Linked DNA regions of Homo sapiens: region 1 is linked to region 2. Evidence: promoter capture Hi-C in human tissues and cell types (Jung and others, 2019). All regions are on one chromosome and are shown on one strand. Each heading gives the region's core, a stretch centred on a gene start or on the middle of the fragment in contact. The rest is flanking DNA. Distances are from core to core; before and after follow the strand shown. Region 1 has its middle 130 kb from the start of LINC02285. Region 2 holds the start of DLK1 (delta like non-canonical Notch ligand 1).

Region 1 (4,950 bases), core at 960-3,459, 520 kb before region 2:
CTTGTCCACCCTGATCACATGTGGCAGCTACCAGCTGCTCGTCTCCTAACCTAGACTGTGAGCTCTTGGGGGTGGGGCCGGGGTTTACCTGCCTCTGCACCCCCAGCACCTAGCACAGAGCTTGGGGCCTGCAGGAGCTCAGCAGATGTGGAACATGCACTGCCCTGCACCTGTGGCTGAGACCCTGGGAATCCTGCGTGCTGCCTTGCATTGCAGACAGAAGGCGGGAGTGCTCGCCTTTTCCCAGCTAACGCCCGTCACCGTAGGAGTCAGCACCTTGCGCGCAGCCTCCGTCTGGAAGCTTTCCAGTGCCAGCTCCCATGACCCTGAGTGTGGAGTCTCCTCTGCAGGAAGCAAGCGCCTCCACTGTGTGGCTGGGGGCTATCTAGACAGAGGGGGGCCAGGGCACCTCTGATCTGGCCTCCCTACCTTGTTTTGTGGTTGAGCAAAGCAGTGCTTTAAAGGGAATTTATTTTTCCAAATTGCAGAACAAAGAACACGATGTTTAGGAAGAAAGCACATTGCTTACATTTGAAAAAAATTAGCAGCATTATATAATGAAAGACACTTGAAAGTGTTGACTCACCCCGGGCTGACATACATCTTTGACTAGTTTGTGAAATACTCATAAAATTACATCCTGTTAATTTAAGACTTCTTATGCTAATTTTCAGTCAATTTTATTTGCCTAAGAAATTTATTGGTGGCCTTCAGGGTAACAGCCGGGTTTGGTCCAAAGATGTGGGATTCTTGTTAAAAACACCATGCCAGGGAAGAGAAACAGAACTCAATGTTAGGGCCAGAAGGATGGGAGGACAGCGTCAGGGCGGGGTGGGCTCTCGTGGTCTCCCCAGGCCCTGCCCTCAGAACCGGGCAGGGTGATGCTGACTCAGACCCCGCCCTGGTCCACACAGAGCGGAGCAGCCCTGGTTGAGTGCAGCACCCCTACTTTATAAAGGAGAGAGATGAGAGACCAGAACCCTTGACATTGCCCCTGAGCGGAGATCCACTGCTCAATGCACCCCACAAGTTGAAGTCGGCAGGAGGAGGTGGTTCTAGATGAAGAACATTTGGGTGATGTGTGAATTTATACAACAGCAAAAGGAGGCCACTTTTGTAAACTGGCATCCATCTCTTTGGGCAGGGAGGCAAGTTTATATTTGGGGCCCCCAAGCTGAGCCGGCTTCCTGGATGTGCAACAGGGCCCGGCTCTTGGGGTTGGATGTTCTGCTGTCTCTATCTTGAAGTTCCTGATAAGGAGCCCACATTCCCATTTTGCACAGAGCCCCACGAATCACATGGCTGGTCCTGCCCTCCGAAAGCAGATCACAGAACAGAGGACAGTGAAGGGCCCACGGTTACCACCCTCCGCCCAACACCAGACAGTTCTAACAATGTTCTCCTGATCTTGGCCTCACCCACCTTCCCTTCTCTAAAAGGAGGATCGAGACCCTCATGGCACCTGCATCCTGGGAGAGCCCTGCCATGGCACGGTTCTGGAAGTGAGGGCCACAGCCCCCGGGGAAGCTCCCCCAAACAGCCTCCTTCCTGTTGACCAGGACAGAGATGGATGGTCAGTGGTTCCCTGGGGTGGAATCCCCCTCCTCACCTCCAAACCCACGTACACACATGTGGCATGTTATGCCCATGCTAACCCTGAAATTCACCAGGAGCCACCGCCCTGTGCCAGAAGAGGCAGAGGATGTGCTCCCCATGCAGCCCGTGGGGAGGGCGTGGCAGGCAGGGTTGCTGTCTCACCTCCCCAGGCACCTGGCTGCTGTGGCCTGGTCTCGGGGCTCCTGCTACTGGGTTTTAGGCCCCAGCCATTCCCGCTTACAGCCACCCCAGGGCGGCTGGCCCCGTAACTGTCTCTGGCAAGCATTAGAGATAGGGCAATTTTGAGAACACGACCAGCTCAGAGAGTGGTGGTCTACCACAGATGGCTCGTCTCCATCCCTCTTAAGAAGTCTGGGCAGATGTTTTCTGCTGGATGTTGGTTGTTGGAGGTGGGAAGGATGGTAGTGGGGGAATCTGTAGGGTGCCGACTGATGTCACCTTAGGTCAAAAAAGCCCTTCTGGAGGGGCTGCTCTTTCCCAGCTTCTCCGACCAGGGACCACCAGATGGGCCATGACAACGCCTGCGTAGGCCGCCCCTGCTAGTCCAGTGCCTCCCGTCTTTCCAGGGGACCATTTGTAGCCCCATGCAGCTCTGTGCAGGCCTTGCTCCTGTCCCTTGTCCTCTACAATTGGGCAGTGCCCCTTCCTTACACCTGACGGTTCCCCGTGGGCCAGGCCTGTGTCAGGTTCTGGGAGCACAGGGAAACCTCCTTGCCACCTGCCCAAGCAGTGCCTGGCCCCGGGGAGAAGGGGAGGGCCATGGCTTGGAAGTCTCCAGAGGAATCATCCCTCCTGGCCCTGAGAGGCCTGTTTGCCCTCATCTGGGGTGCCCGGGGTGTGCTGTGGATCCCATCTAGTTTGTCCCCTCCCTGTGAACCCAGGGTTCCTCCAGGATTCCAGCTGGGCTCTGTTTGAGTGGAATTGTCTTGTGTTTGCACCCTCTCCCGTTATTCTGGTCTCGAGTTTTTCTCTCTATCCATCTTCTCTCATTTAACATAGGTTTCCCCAACACCCCCCGACCCCCGCACCAGGTTCTGAGACCCACCAAGATACAGAGTGTGATAGAACTCAGACCCCGACCTCGAGGAGCAGAGGGGGAAATTGAGGCCTGGAGAGGGAGGAGACCAGTCCTCATGTATCTGACAGCCTTCTCCTGAGACAGACGTTAAGAAACAGTTCCTGGTGGGGACACAGGACACCTGGTCACTGAGCAGAAGCTTCAGAGAAAATGTAATTCAAAGCAGAGACCTGGAGACTGCATAAGGACTGACCAATGGAAGAGGTGGTGGAATGGGTAGAGTCCCAGAAAGGAGAGGCACAGGTGCAAGCAAGGACACACACTGGAGGGAGGGGCGGCTGGGGAGGTGGGCGGAGGCCGAGTCCCCCAGGGCATCGCGTGGTGGGAGGTGGGGTCTGGGACTTGGCGCTGGGGTGGACCCTCATTGCAGGAGAGGAGACCTGGAGTGCACTCTGGCTGCAGTGCAAGGCATGGGCTGGAAGGCAGCAGGCCGAGGGTCATCAGAACCAGAAGGTCCAGGACAGGCTGAGGCCTGGAGAGGGGCACAGAGCGATGCAGGGCAGTAGGTAGAGTTGGGGGAGACTGTGGAGGACTCGAAGCACGCCTGGGATGGACTCACCGTCCATAGGGCAGGAGCAGAGACATCCGGAGGGTGCTGCTTGGGAGGCAGCGTCCCTGACATGCCGTTCACCATATGGAGCTCCCGGGGGTTTGTGGGGTGGGGGCAGTGCGGGGAGATGAAATTAGGGTGCGGCGGCTCTGAGAACCCTGTGTTGTGTCCTCTTGGCAGCTGGAACTTAGATCTGGAAATCTGAGGCCCCAAGAGGCAGATTTTCCCATCGTCCTTCCACAGGGATGATTGGATCCACAGGACGAAGTGGAGAGGAAAGGCCTTGGGGTGCCGGGGGCTGGGGAGAGGGGTTCACCAAGGAGGGTCCTGCGGAGGCTGGAGGTTTGCAGTGAGAGAGCTGGGAGGATGGGAAGCTGGGGTCAGAGATGGAGTCTGAGGATGTGGGCTCAGAGGATGAGGGGCAGGGGCGGCTGGATGGCACTCCTAGACACAGCCTTGTCCTCTCCTCAAGGTGCACCAAGTGGACGAAGAGCAACTTGTGAAGGGCCTACGGTGCCTCCAGGAATGGAGGGCTACCTGTGAGGCAGTGGTGTCTTCCTGAGACATGTGGGAGTTGAGGAGGCAGGCTGAGCGAAAAGCTGGGGGCTCTGGGGAACAGATGCAGGTCTGTCTCTGAGCCTAGAGTGGGAAGATGCAGAAGATGAAGGCATGAAAACTACGGGAGGAGTTCTACAAGTGGTGTGGGGGGCATTGGACGCCACAGGCATAAAACAAACCTCACGTCCTATCTAAACCTCGCATCCTATCTAAACCTCGCATCCTATCTAAACCACGCATCGTTTATCTAAACCTCGCATCCTATCTAAACCTCGCATCCTATCTAAACCACACATCCTACCTAAACAACGCATCCTATCTAAACCTCCCATCCTGTCTAAACCTCGCATCCTATCTAAACCTCGCATCCTATCTAAACCACGCATCCTACCAAAACCTCGCATTCTATCTAAACCTCGCATTCTGTCTAAACGACGCATCCTGTCTAAACCTCGAATCCTATCTAAACCTCCCATCCTGTCTAAACCTCGCATCCTATCTAAACCAGGCATCCTATCTAAACCTCGCATCCTATCTAAACGACGCATCCTACCTAAACAACGCATCCTATCTAAACCTCGCATCCTATCTAAACCTCGCATCCTATCTAAACCTCGCATCCTACCAAAACCTCGCATTCTATCTAAACCTCGCATTCTGTCTAAACGACGCATCCTGTCTAAACCTCGCATCCTATCTAAACCTCGCATCCTATCTAAACCACGCATCCTACCTAAACCTCGCATTCTATCTAAACCACGCATCCTATCTAAACCTCGCATCCTATCTAAACCAGGCATCCTATCTAAACCACGCATCCTACCAAAACCTCGCATCCTACCTAAACCTCGCATCCTATCTAAACCTCGCATCCTATCTAAACCTCGCATCCTACCAAAACCTCGCATTCTATCTAAACCTCGCATTCTGTCTAAACGACGCATCCTGTCTAAACCTCGCATCCTATCTAAACCTCGCATCCTATCTAAACCTCGCATCCTATCTAAACCATGCATCCTACCAAAACCTCGCATCCTACCTAAACCTCGCATTCTGTCTAAACGACGCATCCTGTCTAAACCTCGCATCCTATCTAAACCATGCATCCTATCTAAACCTCGCATCCTATCTAAACCTCGCATCCTAT
Region 2 (4,757 bases), core at 142-2,641:
GGTCCTACCAGCCTGGCACACAGTAGGCACTTCCTATCCGAGCATGGATGGGGCTCAGTGCACTCAGGAAAAACATCTCTGCCACGTTCCCAGCAATGAAATGACCACAGTACACTCTCCCTCGTTCTTAGGAGCAGGAGAAACACCTTCTCCTCGGACTCCCAAAAGCAAATACGACACCTCAAGTCCTCCTAACAGCGGGGACGGGGACCGTGGAGGGAAATATGTTGAGCCCTGGGCATGCAGCCTGACCGTCACTTTTGCAACCTGAGCTGAAAAGAGGAGCAGATTTTGAGGTGTTCAACTCCGGGAAAGCCCAGACAGGTTCACCTGGTGGGCGCCCCAGTAAGGCGTCTGCATTCTTTTTAAGGTTCATCCCTATTAAGCCGGGCACCCAGGTCAAATCTTCCCTCTTTCCCCTACCCCAGACTCTTCGCATTAAAAAAACGATGACGACACAGGGTTTTGCTTAGCGGGCTGAGGTTGCAACAACACTGCTTAGAGATTCTGACACTTTAACAGGCACCTACTGTGTGCATTTACTCAACCAGCTCCCCAGCTTTCTAGACAGCCCCCTTACAACCACTGGTGCAATGAGTGGGGGGGCGCTGCAGGAAGGGGGCAACTCTCTCGCTGTCAGAGACAGATGGCCGCTGCAGACAGAAGTGTCGCAGCCCCTCACCTACAGAAACGCGCCACGCAGGAAGGGCTCAGGCTGGGCTTCTCTGGGAATTGGGGGCTAAGACGGCAAAGTCGTCCCCCACTCCCGCCCCGAGACCTGTTCCAGAACGCTCACACAGGGACACCCCAAAGTTGCACCCCAGAGTATTTTCATAGAAGACTCCACAACAGCACCCCATTTTTCCATACCTCCTTGCTCAGCGCACCGACACCCCTCTGGCGCCACTTCTGCAGGGCGGGAAGGGGCTGGGGGTCTCACACATCCCCTGCGCCCTGGGACCCCTGGGACGGGCCTTGGCATGCGAGCGTGGTGGGTAGGGCGAGACAGGCACAGCGCGGGGCTTAGGGCTAGGCGGGACGGGCGGAGTTGGGGCTCACGAGACGGGGCGTGCGGGGCACCGGGCGGCCGGCGGGGAGTCGCAGGCTTCCCCAGAGGGGGCGCGAGCCGGGCCGCCGGGGAACTCACCATAGGTGCTGTGGCCGAAAGCCAGCAGGAGCAAGAGGACGCGCAGGAGGGCTTCGGTCGCGGTCATCTCTGGGCGGCCGGGGTCGCGGTCCCGGGAGCGGTGCGGGCGCGGGTCCGGCTCCTGGCGCCGCACTGGGCTTCTGGTTGCGGACGCGAAAGGGGGCGCGGGCGCGCAGCGAGGGGAAAGCCAGGGCTGCACCGGGCTGCGCGCTGCGCTCTCCACCGCCGCTGCCGGGGAGCTGCCGCCGCCGCCGCGCGCGCCGCCCTTTTCGTACCGCCTCCCCCCTCGCGGCCCCCGCCCCCCGCCCCCGCCTCCGTGCGCACGGGGCCGGCGCCGGCCAGTCCCTGTGACCCCCTCCCCTCGCAGGGCCGCCCCCGACCACGGCGGCGTCCCAGAAGCCCGCTCGCGCACACGGGTGCACTCTTGGCTAGACGGGCACAGGTATCCCGCGAGCGTTTGGTACACGTTCCCTCACACTGTACAGCACGCGGCCGCCGCGCACATACAGGCCTGCCTAGGACAAGTCGCAGGAATCGAACCTGGGCCGCAGACCTCCCCGGAGAGCACAAATCCGCACGCAGGAACACCGAAACACTTATCGCTGAAGTCCCGGGCACACGTGCAATGGTTAGATACCCAGGAAAACACAAAGGCGCACTATGAAGATGTGAACTAAGCACATAATTACACACGCACACAGAAAAACCCCCAGGAAAAGCCCGACGCCCCCTGTACCCCTGGCCATGAAGACGCAGAAAAATGCAGTTGCCCCGTGGCAACCCACACCCCGCAACGGAAACGCACACGGCAACTCAAACACACTGTAGCCCAGACGCCGTATAGACACAGTCCTAGGTGGCAGAGGGTCAAGCGGACCTGCGGTTACCCAACCATGGGCATCCTCCCCCATGTGCCGACCCCCTGCACACAGACGCTTACGCAGAGCCACCTGCACACCCAAACACGCAAACACACGTATAAACAGACGGACACCCGTGCCCGCATTCAGTCACACCCACCCCCGCACACACAGCATCTCAGTCAGGGCCTTAGCCGCGCTGAAACACAAATGCACCGACTCTTACGCACACATGTACGCACAGCCATGCACCTGATACCCACAAGCACACATACCCAGCTGACTCGTGGTCACACACACTGACAAAAACATATACGCAGTCCCCACACACACACGATCGCATCTGTCTTTGTCCACAGTGGCATGCATGGGCAGCCTCACCAATGTGCTCTCACATACACACAATAGCACTCCAGGCACTCGGCACGTATTCCAGACTCACTGGGAGACCTTCTCTGAGGGGTCGCCCGCTGGAGAGGTGGAGGTAGAGGATGCTGATTGCCAGAGACCCTCTTCCTCTGCAGAGCTCCCAGGGAGAGGGAGTGCTCCTCAGACACCCCTCCTCCCCATTGCCCCCGGCTTAGGCTTAGAGCCCTGCTGGAGAGGAAAGCTCTGCACCCCTGCACCCAGTCTGGATGGGGGAGGCTCAGAAAGATAGGGAGGGAGAGGGGTAGGAGGGGATTAAAGATATTTCACCTCCTGGGGGAAGGGTCCCAGGCGTCCCAATCTTTGGGTGGGTCGTTTAGGATACTTAATTTGCATATATTAATTTGCATACATATCCTAGATGCAGGGAGTGGGTGCCCACCCAGCTCGCGGCCTCCCCTTCTTCACAGTGCTGCAGGGGGGTGTGATCTCACCACTGTGAACCTGGAGGCTGGATGCTTTGACCTCCTGGCCCTCTAGTCCAGCCCTGGCAGGTCTGAGCACAGATTTCCCATCTTAGCCATAGATGTGGGAAGGCAGGCCCATGGGCATCCCCAGGCCCACCACCCCTAAGTCAGTGCTCCAGTAAGGCACTCGGGATGGGTACAGGGATGGACAGAGACCAGAGCTGCTCTGGGCTGGCTCCAAGGAGGCTGGAGGGAAACTCCCAGCCCCTGGTGGAAGATATCCCTTCCCTGATGTTATCTGCAGAATGCCCAGATAGGTAGGGGCTGCTGGGAACGGCTTTGGGGACAGGCTGTAGGGAGCAGTTGGGGTGCCCACTGTGTGCCTGCCACATGCCCTTGCATTCCTGTGACCCTACTTTCTTCCGTGGACTCTTTCCTCAAGTCAAGAAACCAACTTCAGTGATGGAAGGTCCTTTGCCCAAGGCCCTTGGCCTAGAACGAGAGTGTCTGGCTGACAGGCCCAACCCTGGGTGCCAATGTCCACTGCATGGTGATCGCCAAGGTCTTCCTGACCAGGGTTCCTCTCTTCCCTCCCTTCGAGGCCCCTGACTTCAGCCTCCAAAATTATCCCAACAGCAGGCAGACCTGGAAGAGCTGAGTTCTCAGCCAGAAGCCAAGGAGGGGTGGAGGATCTCAGGGCTGGGTAGCCCTGGGGCAAGGGCCTCCCAGGCTCTTGCCAAAGTCCCGCAGAGAGGAGACTCCCTGGACTGCATGGAGCACTTAGGGGGCCCCAGTGTCCCCACCCACACACATACCTAGACTCCTCCCTTCCCCATCCAGGTTCTTCCCCCTTCCCACCCCCGCCCCCAGCCCCACCACAGCCCTCCCCAGTTTAGGAAAGGGAGGGAGGCCAGAGGAGGGTATTCTCGCCCAAGGGAGTCTGTCAAAATGTCACAGGCTTACGCTGAAAGGGCACTGCCTTGGCTTGGGGGGCACCTGCTCTCTAATCCTATCTCCATTTCGTGCCCACCAAGGGCCCAGTCTCTTCCATCTGTGAGCCCTGTTTCTTAGCCCATAAACAGGAATGTCCCACCTGTCTCTGAAAGGAACTCCGGTTTTTGTAAGCAGAAAAGCACTGTGCTGACAGGGCCTGGTCACAACCCCTTCCAGCCATTCCTCCAACAGCTGCACCCCAGAGCCCTTGCCCCCGCCAGCTAGAGGATCTCCAAGGCGGGCACCCAGGCTCCACTGGACCCGGGCCCTCTTCAAGAGCCCCATGCAGGGACACTTGAGGGATGGGAGGGGACTTTCTTGTCTCACAGGACCTACAAGCCAGGAAGATTTCTGTTGGCTTGCTCTAATCTTAATAAAGCGTTTGTAAATTCAGGAGGCCGGAGCTTTCTTTTCAGCAAGCAGACACTGAGAAAGGGTAGCTTAGGAGCGGTAGGGAGGGGAGGTTGGTGACTGTCACAGACTTTAAGTCTGCACAGAAGGCGCGAAAATGCCAATGTAGTCCCTTGGGGAGAAGCGGTACAGTCTGCCATTTGCAAGCAGATCCTGGGGGCTGTGGAACGGCAGGCTGGAGGAGCTGGACGCCCCCTCCTCTATCTGCGCATCCCTCCCCTCCTCCCCCCTCCCCTTCTCTCGAGAGCCATGCTCCGTGTACAGGCCCCCGGGATTACAGAGATGAGGCCAGCAGCCCGCAGGTCCTCATAGCATGGCGTGGCAGGCGATCTACACAGGTTGCAGGGACTGGACCTGCCAACTCTGGGGCCAGATCGAGATGCATGAGCTGGACTCCCTCCCTGTAGCCAAGCCGAAGGCTCTGCCTATGGCCCCGCACCCCGCAGGCAAGAGCCGAAAGCAAGGGGAACCTGTCCGGAGGCAGTGTTGCTGGGCTTTGCCGGGGCAGCAGAG

Evidence for each region. The method cuts DNA at HindIII sites, captures the fragments that hold promoters and counts their contacts. A contact is called where the count stands out against the background at its distance.
Region 1: a fragment that was not itself captured here is called in contact with the fragment with the promoter of DLK1 in region 2 in 1 of the 25 tissues and cell types used here (stomach).

The regions. Positions count from the first base shown.
Region 1 is chr14:101,245,815-101,250,764 of GRCh38, reverse strand. No RefSeq gene overlaps it. Among named protein-coding and RNA genes, the nearest start is that of LINC02285, 130 kb to the right of the region's middle. The HindIII fragment of the contact is 4,197 bases long and covers 111-4,307 here.
Region 2 is chr14:100,723,526-100,728,282 of GRCh38, reverse strand. DLK1 (delta like non-canonical Notch ligand 1) reads right to left here and starts at 1,391. Exons shown (of 5, transcript NM_003836.7): 1 at 1,148-1,391. The coding sequence starts at 1,214. The HindIII fragment of the contact is 15,317 bases long and covers 1-4,757 here.